2 separate regions of the Homo sapiens genome follow, and region 1 is linked to region 2. Evidence: promoter capture Hi-C in human tissues and cell types (Jung and others, 2019). All regions are on one chromosome and are shown on one strand. The core of a region is centred on a gene start or on the middle of the fragment in contact, and the rest is flanking DNA. Distances in the headings are between cores, read along the strand shown.

Region 1 (5,904 bases), core at 3,312-5,811, 240 kb after region 2:
GTCCAAGTCCGGGGTGATTCTTTTTCTCCCTCACCTTTCAGGTACTATTTGAAGTCCCATCTCCCCCACTGGGCCTTGCCTGACCATCCAGCACATGGTTTTCTTTGGTACTTCTTCCTGTCTACATGACTAATTTTATTTTTTATTATTTTTTCAAGATGAGGTCTCTCTGTGTCACCCAGGCTGGAGTGCAGTGGCACAATCATAGCTTACTGCAACCTTGAACTCCTGGGCTCAAGAGATCTTCCCACCTCAGCCTCTTAAACAGCTGACTAAAGGCACATGCCACTGCACCTGGCTTTTTATTTTATTTTTGTAGAGATGGGGTCTTGCTTTGTTGCCCAGACTTGATTTGAACTTGTGGCTTCAAACAGTCCTCTCACCTTGGCCTCCCAAAGGGCTGGGATTACAGGCATGAGCCACTGTGCCCAGCCTACTAATTTTACTTTAAATAACAAAATATTTCTGGGAACTGTAGTTTACTTTTCATGTGGGCATACCCTGTTTCCCCTAATAAAATTGGGAAGGATTAAACTTTTGTTTCCATATAGGATCATTCTAACAAATTTTGCTATTTGGGTGATATCTAATTGGAGCAGATTTCTTGATCACCTTTCCTTGCATAATATCTCACTTTTCCCTCCCTCTCTTTTTCTGTCTTTTTGTGTTTCATCCTCAAGTCTAATGGGATGGGTATGAGGACTGATGAGAAAGAAAATTTTTTTAAAATTCCTGCTCTGAATTGTGCAGTAATTTATAATCTTGAGAGAGGTGTCTACATTCTTTTGCTAGTTCTACTCTTTCTCTCCCATATCCTTTGTACATAATTAGAGCAGTATCTTGTTTTTACCTGGTACAGAATATTTTATCCTACATTGATTTCATAATGAGGTCTTAAATTCACAATCTTTGCCAGACTACACTTATAAGTAATTATTTTTCTGTCTTGTATCATACTCTCAGCAAATCTTAATGTCTAATTAGTGGGACTAGGATGCATTTTGCTGTCAATGCCTTTAAAAAAAACCCAGTCATTTGGCCAATACCATCTTCCCTTACTCTTACTCTGCAGGGAGTGTTTGGTTCTGTCATAACAAGAAAGGGACTTCGCAGTTTCCTCCCAACCTTCCCCAATGCTGGGCCATACATTTTTATCTTGGCTTGTTCTATGAATAGAATGGAGGAAATTTCTTGCTCCTGATGCCAGATAGGGGAGGTTCCAAGCAGAGATTACAACAGAGTCCTCTCATCCCCAAAGCTGAGTTTTGATGAGCTTTGAGTTTAAGGTTATGGCTTCAAATATCAGCAAACTATATACCACTTTCATGGTCAGTTTTTTCATTCCCTAGTTTACATTTTTTTTTATTTCTTTAGCTTCACTATTAATGTGGGAGGAATGGGTCTAATATCCCTGCCTCTAGAGTTAAATTGGCAGCATTTCAGTTTAAGAGGCTGTGGGGCCAAGAGGTTGAGAGAACAAACAGACTCTAGAATCAATCAGACCTGGGTCCAGATCCTTACTCTAACATTTTCTGGATATTCCAACCTGGATAAATTACTTGACTTCAGATTGCATATGTATCAAATGGGATTATATTCATCAGCTGATTCAGTGTTTGACATTGTGATGGGCATTATTTCATTTCCTGAGTATATAATAGCAGGGAAAAAGGAAAAACATTCCTGTCCTTGCAGAGCCCAGTGTAATAATAGGGTGTTGAGAATTAAATGAGAAATAATAATTATAAATTTTAGCACAATGCCTGGTTCTCAACAGATAAGAGTTGTTATTCCGTACCATGCAGTGTTCTTTTCCACGTTGTATACCAGCTTGGCTTAGAGTAAGCACTCAGCAAACTTTGATTGAAGAACTTCATTCATGTGTGGTGTGTGTACCAGTTTTTTCATATGTGTCAGTAGTTTTAATAAAACTTTGAAGCAATCATGTATGTGTTGCTTCCCTGGTTTACATTTTAGCTTTCAAGAGCAACATGACCTTTTCTGGCTTCTCCTACAGGCACCATTGACAGACATCACATGCTTAGAAGAACTTATAACCTTCTGTTGCTTAATTTTCAGCACAAGCTGGATGATGTGGGACTTCTTATCTGATGTTTTCCTTAGAATAGCTGAGTTTTAGCAGTTGCACAATCCTTTGACATGGCATTTGAGGAATGTGACATGGTGAGACTCAAATGCTGAACAGTAGCATCTGTGTACCTTCTCAAGCGATAGTTGCCTTTCCTAATTTTGAAAAGCTAGCACTTAAGTTCATTATAAGAAGCATCCTAAAGAACTTTTTCAGCAGAAGGAAGTTGTTTTTATAGCATAACACAGATGACTTTGGAATTAGACTTGGCTTCCATTCTGGTGACTTGGGCAATTTAATGAGGCTAAATCTCAGGTTGCACGTATGTAAAATGGAATAACAGTAGTAACATTTTCATAGTCCGCTTGGGGTAAATGAGGCACTGCATGTAAAGCAGTTAGCACAGTACCTGGCATATAATAATTGCTGAAAATGGTGATTATTTTTCCTAATTCTTTAGTATTTTTTAAAACAACAAAATATAAAAGCTAAAAAATGTAAACCATGAAAAAACCGTATGCCTGTATGTTGTTTGCATATGCAAATTAATATTAGCTATTTTACTTTATTTTTTTAGAGACAGGTTTTGCTATATTGCCAAGGCTAGCCTTGAACTCCTGGGCTTAAGTGATCCTCCCACCTCGGCCTCCCAAGCAGCTGGGACTACAGCCACAGGCCACCTCACCCAGCTAAATTAACATTAGTTTTATCTGAATTGTTCAGAATTGTATCTTGTATATTATTGTTCAGATGTATCATATTGAACCATGGAATGACAACAAATAACAGAACTGTCAGGGTCATCTAGTTACACTTGCTAATTTTACATAGGAAGAAAACAGTCCCAAAATTTGGTGGCTTAGTTGAGTGAGGACTTGGAGCAAACTTTCTAGTCTCATTGTTTTATAAGGCAGCTGAAGAAATCACTTAGGGAGGTGGGGAAAGGTGTGTGGGACAGGGCTTATAGAGATTTGACTACCGTCACTGCCTGTGTATGTATGTGAGAGAGACAGAGAGGACGCACGTGAGAGAGTGTGAATGTGCGTGTGAGAGTGCGTGTGTGATGAGGTATGTGTGTAGCTGTGTGTGTAGTTTCCTAGGTTTTGTGTAAACTTTTGGTGCTGACTAATTTCCTCCATTTATTGGGTTCCAAGAAGAAAACTTTCACTTCTGGTGAAGAGAGCCCTTGGGTGCCTAAATTCTGCCAGAATACAGTGAAAGGGAGAATAAGTGGGCATTTTTTCAGTAGGTGGATGCTTGGTGACAATGAATGGGTTTGACATCATACAAGTAAAGCATGCTCTGTTATTCTTTCATGTGCTTTGATACTGTAGAATTTGGTGAGGGAAACTCTCAGGTGTAAATTTTATACAGAATTCTTGCAGAGCTGAATTAATTGAATTCTTTTGACAACTATTACCTCCTAGCTGGAGTAAGTTTTTATGTAGGCTACTTTTCAAAAAACACTTTTAAAAGCCATATGTAAAACATAGTTGTGATTTTAAAAAATACTACAATTTCTAAATCTTAAATCAATACAATGAGTTACTGCTTTACTAAGTAATTGATTTTGAAAACAATTAACTTGAAATCCAAATATAAGAAAAATGGATTGAGACTTAGCTGATTTGGATTCTTTCTTTCTTTCTTAAAGGCCAGTAGAGTCAGTAGTCATTGGGAGCAGTAATCTCTTCTAATTTTATGCTACTTTGAATTGCTGATGTAGCTTGATGAGGTTATTCTTCTGTGGGACTTGTATTTTGACATTGATGCTATTAGTATAAACCAAAAAAAATTGATATTATTTTCTGATGTTTATAGGTAATGGTTGATGATAGTGAGAAGACATTTGCCTCCCCTGATAAATGGTGTAATTCATGTGTTTCTATTTTATTTTATTTTTTAGCTTGTTCGTTTTGGTTTAAGTAACCAGCTGGTGGTTGCTTTCAAAGAAGATAACACTGTTGCTTTTAAGCACTTGTTTTTGAAAGGATATTCTGGTACAGATGAAGATGACTACAGCTGCAGTGTATATACTCAAGAGGATGCCTATGAGAGCATCTTTTTTGCTATTAATCAGGCAAGTGTTTTGTTGTGAATGACCTATACTTTAACAATGTATTGATACTTGGCCTTGTCTTAGCCAACAAACAAAAATTATACACATGTTAAAATATTCTAATGTAAGTTTTGCAGTCTGCCAAAAAATGTTTATTGCTATTTCTGAAGCTACATTTCTACACAAAAGAGTTTGCCTATTTTGACTTTTTAAAAAATATTTATCTTTTTAATTTATCACTTCATACCTACTGCTTTTGGAAAATTACCCCAGATCAAATAGCAAGAGTAGATTTTTAATCTCAGAAGGCTTGATGAAAGCTTAATATAAAATCAAAGATTCCAGCCTGGCGTAGTGACTCATGCCTGTAATCCAGGCACTCTGGGAGGCTAAAGTGGGTTGATCCTTTGAGTCCAGTCTGGGCAGCATTGTGAAACCCCATCTCTACAAAATAAATAAGTAAATAAATAAAAAAATCAGGGATTCTGTGGCCTTAATTGTGATGTTTTAGCATTAATAACCCTAGCTGAATCTTAAGAATATGGAATATAAAATAGTTGTATCTAGACAGGTATGAGAAAGCAGATTAGTAGACTTGAAGAAATAATTTAGGAAAGAGAAACTGTTCCTGCTCTTTTTCATTCACTCAATAAATATTGAAGTATCTAATATGTAGCAGGTGTTATTCCAGTCATTGAGGATGCATCAGTGAATAAAACAGACAAAGCGCCTTCCTTTATAGAGCTTAATTCTGGAACGAAGAGCTAGACAAAAAGAAGTGAAATGTGTAATATCAAATGCTAGCTCCCTGAGAATACCACACAAAAAACATGTTGATGAGCAAAGCTGAGCTTATTACTTAGAGTGGTAAGGGAGATGCTATATTGATCAGAGGCCATCTTGCCTTGGGTGAGGAGGGAGTTCTTTAATGTGAGGGGAGCTTGATTAGAATTAGGTAAGGATGATGATATAATAATTTAGGACTGATGGACATGGCAAGGTGAGGATTGGGAAGGCAGTTTCAAAGAATCTTGGAGTTGTTTTCAGACAAAATCTTCCAATTGTTATCTATTTCAATGAATTTTTTGGATGTTCCTGAAATAATAGAGGGAATTTTATGGTCCAGGGCAAAAATTTTCAGGAATAGTAAAGTCGTATTAATGAAGACAGAGCTAGTAAAGCCCTATTAGTGCAGATAGCCAACAGTAAAGCCATGTTAATGTAAGCTGAGGTAAGCTAATGTTGGTTCATGTTAGTCATTGATGTAAGCTGTGGAGTGTGGATGGCTCATGTCCTCAGTAGATATTAGAAAGTAATAACTGCTAAGGAGTAAAGCAGGGAAGGAGATGGGAAGTACCTGGGTGCAGTGATGGATGTTTGTGATTTTCTTTCTTTCTTTCTTTTTTACTGCATTTATTTTATTTTTATTTGACAGGGCATAATTGCACACAGTATATAGTTATGGGGTACAATGTGATGTTTTGATATATGTTTGCAATTTTCCTTGGCTTGGGGAGGGAAGGCCTCATTGAGGTGCGGAATTGAGAGCTGAAGGAGTGAGTAAACCGAGCGGGTATGTACGTGGGTCTCCAGGCAGAGGGAACAGCAAAGGCCAGAGGCAAAAATATGCGTGTGAGCTCCAGGAACTGCCTGGAGGGCAGTGCAGCTTTGCAGGTTGGAGCCAAGGGACTGGAGTAGATGAGGTCCTAGAGATAAGGCAGGACCTTGGCTTTGGCTGAGTGAGGTGGGAGCTGTC
Region 2 (5,123 bases), core at 123-2,622:
GTAATAATTTTGTTAGCATGCATTAACTGAAATAAAGAAGGAAAAACAGACTTAAAAGAGACATCGGTGGGTGGGTTTTGTTTTGTTTTTGATAAAAGAACTCTTATAGAAAAGGAATCGCTGCAAATTTCTTTTAGCTAGCTAGCTCTCTGGGCGATTAAAATGATTGATACATTTCTAGAACACATGCACCGAGATACACCTGCACTCGTACTTTGTCCGTCAAAACAATCTTTGTTTTCTCTCAAGCTAGGACTTGCTGTGCCTAAGACACACCTCGTGCAGCGGTGGCGGTGAAGGTGCTGGGGTGACAGCCAGGAGGGCACTTTCCCTTTCTCGGGCTCCCTAACCAAAACTTTGCAGCCACCAGCCCAAACTCACGTTCCTGCTCGTTCTTCTTTCCCCTGCCTCAACTCTCCCCGCACCCTTCGCGCTCTGTGCGCCCACCCCTGCTTCCGTCGGTCAGCTTCAGCCGACCTACTACTCAACCTACCGGCCCGCGCCCTCCGCCTCCACCTGCACCACTCGCCCACCCCGAGAACCCACCTCTGCCGCCCCCGGCCCGCGCGCCCCGTCGCGGCCCGGGGCTCCGGGGCATGCGCGTTGCGGCGCCACCGCCCTCCCCCACGCCTTCCCGCGGCAGAGTTATGCCAAGTATGTGAGGAGCCGGCGAGGGCCAGCGCCGGTCATGGGGAGCCGCCGCCGCCTCCGCCTCCGCCTCCGCGAGCGCGGTTTTCTCCCCAGCGGGGCTCCGACCTCTCCCCCTGGCGGGGGTGAGCCTCGCGGCTAAGGCAGAGGGGATGGCGGACCCTCTGAGGAGGACGCTGTCCAGGCTCCGGGGAAGGCGGGGTCCCCGCGGCACCGGGGGGCTAGGGCTCCGGGCGGCAGCCGCAGCTGCGGTGGCGGCCTCTTCGGCAGCCGCGGGAGACGCCTGGGGTGCCGCAGACACCCTCCCACGTGAGCACGCCGGGGGACACGGGCGGAGCCTACAGCAGCCCTCGCCGTCACCTGAGGCGTGGGGTCCCGGGGCGCGGGTCCCCGGAGGGCACCCGGAGCAGTTGGGGGCGCTCGGGCCTCGGCCGCGCGGCGGGCAGGAGGCCGCCCCCCAGAGCCATGGGCTCGCTCACGCCCCTCCGCACTCCCCGGAGGGCTCCGAGGACAGCGGAGAGGAGGAGGAAGACGACAAGGACGAAGACGACTACGACGCCGACTACTACGAAAACCTGCCCGGCGGCTCGCAGTCTGCGCCCGAGCCTGAGGGGGCGGAGGCGGAACGGCGTCCCCCGCCTCCCCCAGCGGCGGGCTCCTCCCTGGGGGCGGAGGGCGGCCGCCTGGAGACAGGCAGGCTGCGGACCCAGTTGCGAGAGGCCTATTATCTGCTGATCCAGGCCATGCACGACCTGCCCCCTGACTCGGGCGCGCGGCGGGGCGGCAGGGGCTTGGCGGATCACAGCTTCCCCGCGGGAGCCCGGGCTCCGGGCCAGCCGCCTTCCCGCGGCGCCGCGTACCGCCGAGCCTGCCCCCGGGACGGGGAGCGGGGAGGCGGCGGACGCCCTCGGCAGCAGGTGTCCCCGCCCCGGTCGCCTCAGAGGGAGCCGCGGGGAGGCCAGCTGCGGACTCCTCGGATGCGGCCGTCCTGCAGCAGAAGCCTCGAGAGCCTCCGGGTGGGTGCCAAGCCGCCTCCCTTCCAGCGGTGGCCGAGCGACAGCTGGATCAGGTGCGGCGCGCACCGGGACTGGGACGAGCCCCCGCCACGTGGAGGCAGGATGGACGGCTGGAGTGGGGACCGCGCCCGGGCGGCTGCACCCACCGGCCTCCAGCCTCCAGGCTGCAAGGACCACGGCTGCTCCTCGGGAAGCCCTTTCAGGGATCCAGCGGGGTCCTCTGTGATACGCAGTGGCAAAGGAGACCGCCAGGAAGGCCCCTCCTTCCTCAGGCCGCCGGCAGTGACAGTCAAGAAGCTGCAGAAGTGGATGTACAAAGGGCGTCTGCTGTCCCTGGGAATGAAGGGTCGTGCCCGTGGGACGGCTCCCAAAGTCACAGGAACGCAGGCAGCCTCCCCAAATGTGGGCGCTTTGAAAGTGCGTGAAAACCGTGTCCTGTCGGTGCCTCCAGACCAAAGAATTACGCTGACAGGTAGGATACTTTGCGATGAAAATGCTAGCACCGCGAGCCTTACTGTTTACCGACTGGGCTTCTGTCTTAAGAGCCAAGAAAAAGTTATGTTTTTGCGACAGGTACGTTACCGGGCGAAAGTAAGTGTCATGTAAGTGGCAGCTTAAAGTAATTTCGGGGTTACTTAATGTAATGCATTTACTCGTTTTGCTTTTTTTTTTCTTTTTAATCAGACAATGGCATGAAGAATTGAGGTTGTGATTTCTTCTCGAAAAACCAGTGTGTCTATTCCCTAAGTATTACCTAAAGGAGTAAAGGTTAAGTATAACACACTTTTAGTAGGTTTACAGATGGGCGGCACTGTCTTGATTTTTATTCTTTGTAGCTCTAGGCAAATCCGTAGACTTTTGTGGAGTTTGTAAATTTGAATTTGATTCAAGGTAGATTTTATAGGCTTCATAAACTGTCATTTTACTCATTACAACTTTTTTTTTTTGCCTCTCCCAGGCACGCACACACATGCATACATACACACAACCAAAAACCCAAACAAATCAAACAAAAAAAACCCTACCATAAGTAGAATTTTTTAGTCAGGTAGTATTTCACATACACCATCTCTCCACCTGCCTCCCCCCGACAAAGAAACCTCAACAAAGTAATCTTTTTATTGTGAAAAATCAAGGACACTAACATTTTAATCAAAAGAAAAATGTTCCTCAGGTAGTTTTGTTTTTAAAGCAGTCATTTGCAAACTTAAATCCTATTTATAAGAGAAGTAAATTAGTTTTTTAAAAAGTATATTGATCCTTATAATAGGATTAAGCTCCCTATTTTGTATGTGCATGATTTTTAACTATCACTGAAGGTTTAGGTTATCAATTCTAGAAACCAGTCAATTATGTTGTAAATATCAAAATATCTTTCCTGAAAGGAGTATAATATCTTCAAAGTGAGCCAAAACAACATGGTCTTTTGAATACTCTTACATATAAAAATTTTTAGTGATCATAAAGACTTATAAGTCAGGAATAATTTGGAAAACATTAAATCCTGAAATGTAAAAGGTATTCACAGTACTTGGCGGTTTCTCTGGTAGTAATTATAAATCCTACAGGACTGGATTTATACACATTAACTTTGTTTAACCAATAAACACACAACAGTGGGGAGAAACAAAGTTCACAAAACTTCTTATCAAACAATGAAGACAAATCAAATGATTCATTCAAAGTGTGTGCCAACTTGCAAAGTTTTTTCCTGTCTATACGGCTCTAATACACACCTGTCAAATTTTATTCTCAAGGTTAAATATTCCATTTCACTTGAACAAAAGGATAATAGAATGTAAATTCTTTGTTGAGAGGTGTACTTTATACTAAGTTCATATTAAACATGCATTTCCAGGAGTAATTTGTAATCATTTATTATATTTTATTGCCACAATATTTTTACCTCCCCCCCTTTGGCTTAGTTTTAACTCTTGGTACCATAGTTGAATTTCAGCCATAACAAAAAATAGTCAAATATTTTTCACCCTTTTGTCACAGAGCTAAAACACTTACCATGTGATGGCTTTTAATGCCCTCAGTAGTAAACATTCAAGGATTTTTAAAGTAATAAATATAGTTCCTTTAAGAATGAATTTGATTTTTGCATTAAGCAACTAATTAAATGAAACTGCTAACTTAGAAATTAAAATGAAACAATTATTATGTGATAATATTTTAGATATTTTATGAGAAATCTAAGCCAAAGCTACCATAATCTCTGGTTTAAACAACTCTCAGATGTTACTTCCTTTTAAACCACTAATTCATTTTTCAGGAGAGATGAAAATAATTTGTGCAGTGTTTACATATCTAGTATAGATTTGGAGAGCTTTTTAAAAAAATTATTTTTCATGAAGTTTAGTTGGTCTTACTAAGTCCATTCTGGATACATTAGGTGGTTCTCATACAATTTTTATAGCCCCCAAAATGGAGATATGCTGTCATTTAACAACAGCTACAAGAAAAAGAACAGAGGGATTAAGCAGTTTGCCCAAGATCACTCAGTTGGTACCTGTGTATGGATTCAAACTACTATGTGGATTCAAACCCAAGGCGTCATGAGTTTGAAAAAAGCCCCTGTTTACATAAGATCAGAGACTCTAGAGTTCTTTAAAGGTCTGATCCAATTAATTCTATTAAATTGCTTGGATTGAGGATATGGGTGAATTTCAACAAGGCATAGCGGGGTAAGTAACTTCCTCAAAGTTGCAAAGAAGATGGGAGAATCTTAGGCCGGGTTTAAAGACATTTTAAAAAGTAATTGCTGGGCCGGGCGCAGTGGCTCATGCCTGTAATCCCAGCACTTTGGGAGGCCGAGGCGGGCGGATCACGAGGTCAGGAGATCGAGACCATCCTGGCTAATACTGTGAAACCCCGTCTCTACTAAGAATACAAAAAATTAGCCGGGCGTGGTGGTGGGTGCCTGTAGTCCCAGCTACTCGGGAGGCTGAGGCAGGAGAATGGCGTGAACCTGGGAGGCGGAGCTTGCAGTGAGCCAAGATCGTGTCACTGCACTCTAGCCTGGGAGACAGAGTGAGACTCCGTCTCAAAAAAATAAATAAATAAATAAATAAAATTTAAAAAAGCATTTGCTGTATTCATTTTAAACTTTTACCTTTAAATATTTACTTACTTGAAATTGATGTCACTTGACTTCTACTTTTAAATCATGTTTTCTGCAAAACTTATTTGGAGCGGTCTAGATGAACCAGTACATTCTTGTTTATGTAAAGATGTTAAATATCCTAAAAGGTTTATAGCACATTTTTCTGTACAGTATTATTCATAAGATATTTTGTCAAAATTACATTTAGAATTTGTAATACAGAATAATTATTCAGTGGAATGGAGATACTTCATATAGGTATTGTGAAAATTTTTGAGACTATATGACAAATGGAAACACAAATGATTTTCTATTTTGATTTCTGGCTCCTACTAAGAACTTTTGATAGT

Evidence for each region. Contacts are between HindIII fragments. The study calls those that stand out against the background at their distance.
Region 1: a contact is called between a fragment that was not itself captured here and the fragment with the promoter of SYDE2 in region 2, in 1 of the 25 tissues and cell types used here (neural progenitor cells).

The regions. Positions count from the first base shown.
Region 1 is chr1:84,956,794-84,962,697 of GRCh38, reverse strand. It overlaps MCOLN2 (mucolipin TRP cation channel 2), which reads left to right. Exons shown (of 14, transcript NM_153259.4): 3 at 3,996-4,169. Among named protein-coding and RNA genes, the nearest start is that of MCOLN2, 37 kb to the left of the region's middle. The HindIII fragment of the contact is 6,848 bases long and covers 1,138-5,904 here.
Region 2 is chr1:85,197,265-85,202,387 of GRCh38, reverse strand. SYDE2 (synapse defective Rho GTPase homolog 2) reads left to right here and starts at 1,372. Exons shown (of 7, transcript NM_032184.2): 1 at 1,372-2,136. The coding sequence starts at 1,392. LOC124904207 (a long non-coding RNA gene) reads left to right here and starts at 2,146. Exons shown (of 2, transcript XR_007066199.1): 1 at 2,146-2,237; 2 at 2,349-4,752. RefSeq lists a silencer at 484-1,633 and an enhancer at 1,646-2,257. The HindIII fragment of the contact is 20,475 bases long and covers 1-5,123 here.